3 separate regions of the Homo sapiens genome follow, and all the other regions are linked to region 3. Evidence: promoter capture Hi-C in 16 types of primary human blood cells and fetal thymus (Javierre and others, 2016). All regions are on one chromosome and are shown on one strand. Each heading gives the region's core, a stretch centred on a gene start or on the middle of the fragment in contact. The rest is flanking DNA. Distances are from core to core; before and after follow the strand shown. Region 1 overlaps ZFPM2 (zinc finger protein, FOG family member 2). Region 2 overlaps ZFPM2 (zinc finger protein, FOG family member 2). Region 3 holds the start of ZFPM2 (zinc finger protein, FOG family member 2).

Region 1 (2,868 bases), core at 257-2,756, 400 kb before region 3:
GGCAGAAGGATTCCGATTATTCAAGACCACTTTGGTTTCTTGTCAACATGGACTCATATGATACTGGCACTGAAACTAAAACAAAAAGTGGAAGAAGGATTGGTATAATACAGAAACATTTTTAGAGAAATGAGAGAGCAGAGTCAGACCGAAATTACAGTGTATTTCCATAAAGATACACCCAGTGTGCCTGCCTCTCCTGCCTCCCATTTCACCTCCACCTCTTCTGCCTCTGCCACCTCTGAGACAGCAAGACCACCCCCTCATCTTCCTCCTTCTCCTCACACTATTCAATGTGAGGACAGCAAGGATGAAGCCCTTTATGATGACCCACTTCCACTAAATGAATAGCAAGTGTATTTCCTCTTCATTATGATTTTCTTGACATTTTCTTTTCTTTGGCTTACCTTACTGTAAGAATATAGTATAATAAACATAACATACAAAATATGTGTTAATCAATTATTTATGTCATTGGTCAGGTTTTTGGTCAATAGTAGGTTATCAGTAGTTAAGTTTTTAGGGACACAGAAGTTATATGTGGAGTTTCAAATGCATGGGGGTGGGGATTGGCAACCCTTATCCAGGTGTTCAAAGGTCAATTATAGTCATAACCAAGGAAGAAATTGGAATAATCGAAAAATAAATTGACAATAGAAACAAAGATCCAAAGAATCTCCCATGGTCCAACAAACAAAGGAGCTTGACCTAGTCTAGAAAATATATTGGTATGAAAGAATTAAGTTATTCTTTATAAGCAGGAAGCAGGGTGGGGAAGGAAGAAAGAAAAAGAAGCTTCAGAGGGGTACAAGGCCTTTGTGTTGCAAAAATCTGGTAACATCTGGACCAAAGCTGTCCATTAATATAATATTAGCCATATATATAATTTTAAAAAATTAATAACTACATAAAAAGGAAAAAGGTAAAATTATTTTAATAATATATTTAATCTACCATATCAAAAACATTACCAATTTATAACTGATGTTAAAATTTTAATTATACCTATATATAGTATTAAGTCTTTGAAATGTGGTGTGTATTTTACATTTGCTACATATCTCCAATACAGACAAGTCACATTTCAAGTGCTCCATAGCCACAAGTGGCAAGTGGCTACCATACTTGATAGTGCAACCAGCCATGCCTCATTTCATGTGAGATGGCAAGAGATGAATAGGTTTCAACACATGTTCTCGTATATTCTTTCTGAGAAAATTACTTAAGAGTTACTATCTAGCTGATAATTCAATATTCATGGATAGAAGGCCTGATGAAGGTAAGAACAAGAGAATATTGTGTCTATTTTACATTTTATTTTTCAAAAAATAGAGTGAAAACCAATAGTGACCTAAATACAGTGTGAATGCAAAAAAACTGTAACCTGGCAACAATGGGAATTCAAAGCAGTATTTTATACTTTTTCCTATTTTCAAATTGCTCCAATGAACATATATTACTTTTTTTAAAAAAAGTGATTTGATATTAATATAATCTGTTGTCATTACATAGAAAAGCTGTGAGAAAAAGATAAACTTTCTGTTTTTGTGGAATTATAAATATGGAAGGCTACATGAATCATGATGAAATTCATTCATTCAACACATACTGACTGCCAAATTTGCATCATGTGCTGTGCCTTGGGGCAGTTATCTATAACTGGGATATGTGAACAGTGGAAAGTACAGTTGCCCCTTGAACATGGGTTTGCAGATCCACTTAAACACGATTTTTTTCAACCAAAGGCAGACGGAAAACACAGTATTCACTGGATGTGAAATTTGTCTATACGTAGGGCTGACATTTCCCATCTGTGGGATCTGCAGGGCTGACTGCAGAACTGGAGTATGCATGGATTTTGGTATCTTCAGTGGTCCTGGAACCAGTCCCCTATGTCTACAGAGGGACAACTATAAATGAAGACGTTCAGGGTTTTGCCTGCATGGGTCGCTAAAAAGGAATGATTTTCTAGGTTTTTACAATGCAGTCGTTCTTACTAGTTTTTTCGACTTTCTCTTCCACAAAAGGCTTTTTCATTTACACAACGAAAGGCCCAAGACCCTACTTTTACAGATGCAGCAAGGTGGATGCCAAAACAATGGGACTGTTCTAGGATGCATCTCCTCTCCCAAGTGGGAGTCCTTTCAGAGCCCATCCGAAATGTGGAAGTGAGCTGAGGTTTATTTCATCCAGGTGATAGAGCTATTGGTAAGCTTCTGTGCCTTATCTATATATCTATTTTAGGATAAGAATTCAGAAGTGAGATGATTGTCTCGGGGACCTGAATTTACATGCTTATTTGAATTGGAAAATGAAGTCAGAGTTTTTCCTGACAGCTAGGAGTGATCTGGCTGATTGGCACGACAGAGATGTTCTTTTCCAATTAGGTGATGTGGCAGATATTTTTCATGAAATGATTGAGCTAAATCTGCAGCTCTAAGGTTTTGATACAAATATACTGGAGGCACATGCACAATACAAGGTAACCTAGAGATTATTAGTAATTAATAGTGGTAAATTAGTAGTAAATTAATCATAAATTAGTAGTGAACACTAAGAATTAATAATGACTGAAAACTCTTTAAACTTATGATTAAACTTTAGATAGCAAGGGAATTCATCATATTTCAACATTCATTTACTGGAAACTTGAATCAAAGTTTTGTGAAATATGTAAAACCTGGAAAATGTTGGAGAAGGACATTGATACAGCAGGATCAGGTGGGTGGGAGGAGTGCAGGGCAGCTCATAAGGACATGAGCAGAATCGTATGAATAATAAATTGCATTATTTATACAACTATTTCTGTTCATTTGCATCCCTAGAAGAATGCTGGTTAGTAAAATTCGCAATCAGTGACTAAGGCCA
Region 2 (3,050 bases), core at 423-2,922, 320 kb before region 3:
AATTGCTGATAAATATGTATGCAAATTTGCAAAGAAAGGCAATAACCTGTAACCTTGGCTTAGTAAATGGCATCTTCCAAAATTTTGTTGATTGTACAATTGGGAATTGAAGTCAACAAGCTTAAGATTGAATCCCAACTTCTTCATTTTAACTTACTTAACCCATCGAAACCTAAATTTATTCATCTGTAAAATGGGAAAAGCACTGTTTCGATATCATGAATTTGTATTGTAAGCAAGAAAATGTACGTAAAGTGATTAGAACAGTGTCTAGAATAGAACAAAGATTAATAAATAGTAATTGCTATTATTAGTATTAATAATATCATCATTTTCATCTTTATACTAGCATTGTATATAAGACTTTCACTAAAATAAAAGTATCACGTGCCCAAGAAAAAAATCCAATGATATGCTCCCAGACAGGCTTCAGGTCTCTAATTCTGTGACACAGATCTCTGCAAATATTCTGTGGGTTCAAAGTGACTGAATAAGACTTGTAGAAGTCTTCGCTATAAATACGATATCACTATATGCTTGATACCAACATGGAGGCCTGGCTTCATTTTCTCTCAGTGTGTACTGACTTATGACCACAAGGACTGCTTGTATGATAATCAGCAACATAATATTGATCATAACCTCTGCAATCATGTAAATGGGTGCTTCACAAAAATCCTGCATGGTAGCCATTGCTATTCCATTTTCACAGCTGAGAAAATCAAGATTAGAGTGGGCAAGTGATTTGTCTAAGGTTACACATGAAATATAGATTTTTATAATAATATTGTGGCTTCGCATATAAAGAAATATTATGTTGTTGAGGTGAGAGTGAGGGTTAGCAGATACTTTTTCACTCTCTTGATTGACAGTGTTTATTCTCTTAATCTGGAGACCTAGAGAATGTGGCTACTTTGAAATAACAACTACAAGAAAATTGAAAAACTAAATAATGTAATTATTCCCGATTTGAAGCTGAGTGATTAAACCCACATGAAAGATGCTAAAGGTGTAATTTTAAATATCCTCAAAACGTAAAATTCTAAGTACACTATTTGTTTTTCATATGAAAAGGTCACCATACTTTGCAAACGGTAGATAGCATATAAGAAGGTAAGGTAAAGAAGTAGATCATCAGTGCTCAACAGACAGTGGATTTTAGGAGTAAGTGGGCAGGCCTTTGCTCACCCTACTCTCCAGCAGAGCTCCTTTTAACTTCAGCATTATGCTTTTTAGTATTTATCCATAGAGATAAGTAAATTAGAATTATCTGGAGTCTGTTGAGAATAATGGCAAAAAACAGACGACCCAACAGGTCTGGTCCATCAATGTCTGGATGACCTAATTACTTTCTGGAATGACAAGGGGTAGGTGAGGCAGGAACAATGTACATCAGATTCGAATGTTAATGCCAACTACTATACTTTTAAAAATTTTTATAAAACAAGATGATGGCAACCTGTCAAAAAGCACTAAGTGATATAATACAATTTTATTTTATAATAATTATTTGATGGACACGCTGACAAGGAGAGATTTATAGTCATATTTAATTTTGTTACTAGCCTACATTTAGGAACACTTTAGGAAGCAAGCATGCCTCCTAGATGGTAATAGTTAAACATTAAATGGGCCTATTTTCACACCATAAGAAAACACTATCAAAAATCTCAGTCAAGGCATTTTTGCAAAATGTCACACATCTGCAATTTATCTTCTATTTGTAAACAGATACTGATATGTTCTCAGATAGCCAGGTCCTATAATAATGATTTGGCATTGAGTTTATAAGTAGTTTAGGTTTTTAGGAAAACAAACAAATAAATACAATTGTGGCATCAGGAATTTAATTTTCATCGTCCATGAGAGCTTTTTAGACTTTAGGAAATAATATGTGATACCTGGGAGCATGGATGTTGGCCCAACAAGCAACCACTCTTTTGTGGCAGCATATCCTTGGTTTTATTTAGGGAACTACCTCTCCTCCATTTCAGTGGCTCATGCAGGGTTAATTTTACTTTTAGGCCCCAGGCTGACTATGGCCTGCCTAGGAGAGTCATAGTGATTAATTGGTTCAGGGAATGGTATGTGATGTGCTCTAATCACAAAACCCAGAAAAGCTCTCTTTTCACCGAAGTTGCTATGCTGGTGGAATAAGTCTGGAGCTTGCCACTACTTATCTGAGAATGATGCCCACACAAGAAAGAAGAGCCAGACGATAGAGAGAGAGAGTTTGGGGACAAAGTTTGAGCAACTGAATCAAGCAGTTCCTGACATCCAGAATATCCCTGGACTCTCAGTTATATGAGCAGATGAACCCATCTACCCCAAAACACACACACACACACAATTTTTTGGCAGAAGCTAATTTCAGTTAGAATTCCACCACTTGAAAACAAAAGAGGCCCAATTAATAAATAATATAGGCATTACGAAAATGCCACAAACATTGTGGAGTTTCAAGTTAACACTTGTTAACCCTTCCATCTTCAAAACGCTTTTGCTTTGAGGAGTCTTATCATACATACAGATTGTGGAGACAGACGACTCCTGAGTCCAGTGTGTTTGGATACGAGTAGGAGTGCCTCCCGGGATCATATTTTCCATGATCCAAACAATCCCTAGTAAAATCCCAGAATATTAAGGTATTGACACAACTTTGGGACATGCTCTGGGTGAGCTGTCTCCTCCCTCTAAAGGCACTCTAAATACTAGAAATTAGTTCCAGGCCTCTGAACCCCAGGTAGAAGATCAAAGAAGAGTCTGGAGCAAAGTAGAGAAATAAAAATATATGTTGAAATGCAAATGATCAGGGTTTTTTGCTTTTGTTTTTTACTGCATAATTCTAGATCATTAATAGCAGCATCCATTGTGAGTTTTCAAGAGGGCTACGATAAATGATATTTGGTCATGGGGCTTTTTCTTTAATCTTAGGGTTCCATGAAATACATTTTGGGAAATGCCACACTTTAATATATATATTTTGTGATTTCTAGGGATAAAAGCCCGAGTGGTTTTGATTGTTACTCATCATTTAACAGTGGCAAAGG
Region 3 (2,704 bases), core at 50-2,549:
TGACTGGCGGCCCCTCCCAGGGAGGACTCCGCGCGCCACCAGGGCCAGACACCACCCGAATCCCCGCTCGGCTGAGCGTCCTGGCGGCGTGAGCCGGACCCGCCCGAAGTCCCAGGACACGACCTGCCAGCCACCAGCCCGCGCCCGCAGGGCAGAGACGCACGGCCGCCCGCCGCAGAGGCGCGAACTTTTACACCTACTTTTTGTTTCGCTTCGGGTTTGGTGTGGCTCTGGCACCGCCCAGGATCGGGACCCTGACGCTCTGATTTTCCACCGCGTGGGGAAGTTACCTCCCTCGCCCCGAGGTCTCGACCGCCCAGCTTTTCTGAGAAGTTTCTACCCTGGTTACTAAAAGTGGTTCCCAAGAGTAGTCCCACGTCAATCGCACAAAGCAATGACAACAACAATAATAAGCGTCTAAAGGAGCGGGACTGCCCCTCCGGCTGGACGACAGCGCCGGGGACTCGCAGCGTGCGCGGGTCGGAATTAAAAAAGCAGCCCGGGAGCGCGAGGGCTGAGCGGGGCAAGCATGGGCTGCTCCTCGCAGCCTCTCTCCTGCCCGAGGCTCGGGCTGGCCGTCTGTCTGTCTATGACTGTCTAGTTGTCCCTTCGACTGCTCAGGCAAAGTTTGAGACATCTAGGGGACCGGGAGCGGATCTCCCCTAGCCCCGCCACCCACCCACCGCTTTCCCGTCCCGCGCACCCCGCTCCTGGGCAATAATCCCACCAACTCCCGGCCCCGCGCGCAAACTTACGTTTGATCTGCCGGGGTTTGCTTTGCTTTCGCCGGGACATCTCGGCGGCGGCTGCTGCCGCTGGGGCTCCCGCGGTGCCCGCGGTCGCGGCTGCCGCTCCCTCGGCTCCCGCCGCCGCCGCCGCCGCCGCCGCCGCTGGCCAGGCTCGGCCCGCCGCCGGCCGGACTCCAGGTGCTCCGGGCGCTGGGCTCCTCCGGGAGCCGCGGATTCACGTTCGGAGATGAGCAAGCAAATGAGAGAAGAGAGACGGGGGCACAGAGAGTGTGACAGTGAGGAGGGGAGGGGGAGAGGAGAGCGACGGGGGGAGAATGGGAATGTACAAGCGAACGGTCAGGGAGAGAGAAAAGGGGAAAGAGAAGAGAAAAATAACACGGAAAGAAGGAAGAGAAGGAGGGAGGGACGGGAGAGCGAGCAGCGAGGAGAGGGGGAGCGCGGGGGCGCAGGGCGCGGGAGGAGGAGCGCGCTCGCTCGCCCCTCGCCCCGGCGTGCGGGACGGATACTCCGGCGCCGCCGCCGCCGCTCCGGGCCGCGCAGCTCCTGTTCTGCGGCGGGAGGCGGCGAGGCGCGCGAGGGAGGGGCGCGCCGGGGCTGTGGGGAGGGGAGACTATTCCATCAGCCAAAGGAGGATTGGCTGCATCCAAATCCAGTCCGGATGCAAACTACGGCCCCGGCCTTGGTCGGGCGAAGTGCGGGGGATCCAGGCGGTGGTGGGGGATGGGGGCAGGGGTGGGTGGGAGTTGGAGGGGAGGCGTGGGGACGGCTTGGAGGAGGGCCACCTTCTGCAGTTGTCACCGCGTCAACGCTGGGCAGCTGCCAGGGCACCCCGCCCCACCTCCTTCCAGGCAACTTCTTCCAACGGCCCTCTCTGAGGGACCCCAACTCTCCTCTCTCACGCCTCGCCAGTCCAGCGGGGCACAAAGAAATCTCAGTCTCTCCCTAAACTTTGTGCTTTCAGTTATGCCGCCCCCTCCCCTCACCCCCAACCCCCGCCCTCCCAGCTTCTTGGCAGGAAGGTTAGGCCACTGGCAAAGTCCTCGGCGAGAGCCAGATGATCACAAATGCCAACTGTGTGTCTTGGGGCCAGTTAAGTCCGCTCATCTGCCCAGGCTCTCAGAAGACCATTTCTTTGCTCTCAAGGCTCCCAGGAGACCGCTGCGGACACGGACCGTCCCGCTCTGGGCCCACGTGGATGAGGTGCTGAGTCGGATCCTCAACGTGTTCTGTCACCCACAGTTTCCATTTTAAATTGTAAAATATTCAAATTTGGAGACAAGCAGATATTTTTCTCATCTTGAAAAGGAGGAGCGAGCGTTAGCTAGCTGATTAGCCGTAAGTGGAAAACGAACCATCTCTAATAAAAATACTAACTTTTTGGGAAAGTCTGGGGAAGTTCTGTAGTCCCACCCTGCCCCGTGACCTTTCTATTCTCTTAGTCTTCTGCCACAGGGAAGCACCGATCGACTAATAAAAGATTTGATCTTGCTGTAATTTCCCAAGCGGGTAAGACCCAGTAACTATTTAATGGTTCTTTAGCTTCTAAAATTTTGTTTTATTCTTATTCAATTACTGTATGTGTAGTATATCGGCAACTGCAAGCCAAAAGGAGAACAAATTTTGAGGTGATTTGCATAGTTATTATTTTGGCCAAGTTAAACTGTATGAGGTTAGCTTATTTTCTTACAGTTTCATATACGGTAAGTATTAAATATATTCTCCCATGTGGGTTGGAAGGAGCTTCTATCCAAGTGCAGTGGGACTAGCTGCTTTATGTAATCAGTATTTACTAATAAACTCCACTGCAGTTCACATGAGTCCCCCAGATACTGCTGACTTTTCCCCCAGGAGGTTGTGAAGTGGACCATTCTGATCTCAAATTGTGTCCCCGTTTGCTTGGTTGACTATTATTTGTGTGAACCACACCAAACTGGATACTCTAAAAGGGTCTGGGG

The links. The method cuts DNA at HindIII sites, captures the fragments that hold promoters and counts their contacts. A CHiCAGO score of 5 or more calls a contact.
Region 1: a contact is called between a fragment that was not itself captured here and the fragment with the promoter of ZFPM2 in region 3, in 1 of 17 cell types (endothelial precursors). The highest score is 5.9, in endothelial precursors.
Region 2: a contact is called between a fragment that was not itself captured here and the fragment with the promoter of ZFPM2 in region 3, in 1 of 17 cell types (megakaryocytes). The highest score is 6.1, in megakaryocytes.

What each region holds. Positions count from the first base shown.
Region 1 is chr8:105,720,118-105,722,985 of GRCh38, reverse strand. The region is part of intron 5 of ZFPM2 (zinc finger protein, FOG family member 2); the gene reads right to left. Among named protein-coding and RNA genes, the nearest start is that of ZFPM2-AS1, 340 kb to the left of the region's middle. The HindIII fragment of the contact is 1,418 bases long and covers 798-2,215 here.
Region 2 is chr8:105,637,255-105,640,304 of GRCh38, reverse strand. All of the region lies in intron 5 of ZFPM2 (zinc finger protein, FOG family member 2), which reads right to left. Among named protein-coding and RNA genes, the nearest start is that of ZFPM2, 320 kb to the right of the region's middle. The HindIII fragment of the contact is 3,099 bases long and covers 123-3,050 here.
Region 3 is chr8:105,317,033-105,319,736 of GRCh38, reverse strand. ZFPM2 (zinc finger protein, FOG family member 2) reads right to left here and starts at 1,299. Exons shown (of 8, transcript NM_012082.4): 1 at 756-1,299. The coding sequence starts at 795. The HindIII fragment of the contact is 6,875 bases long and covers 1-2,704 here.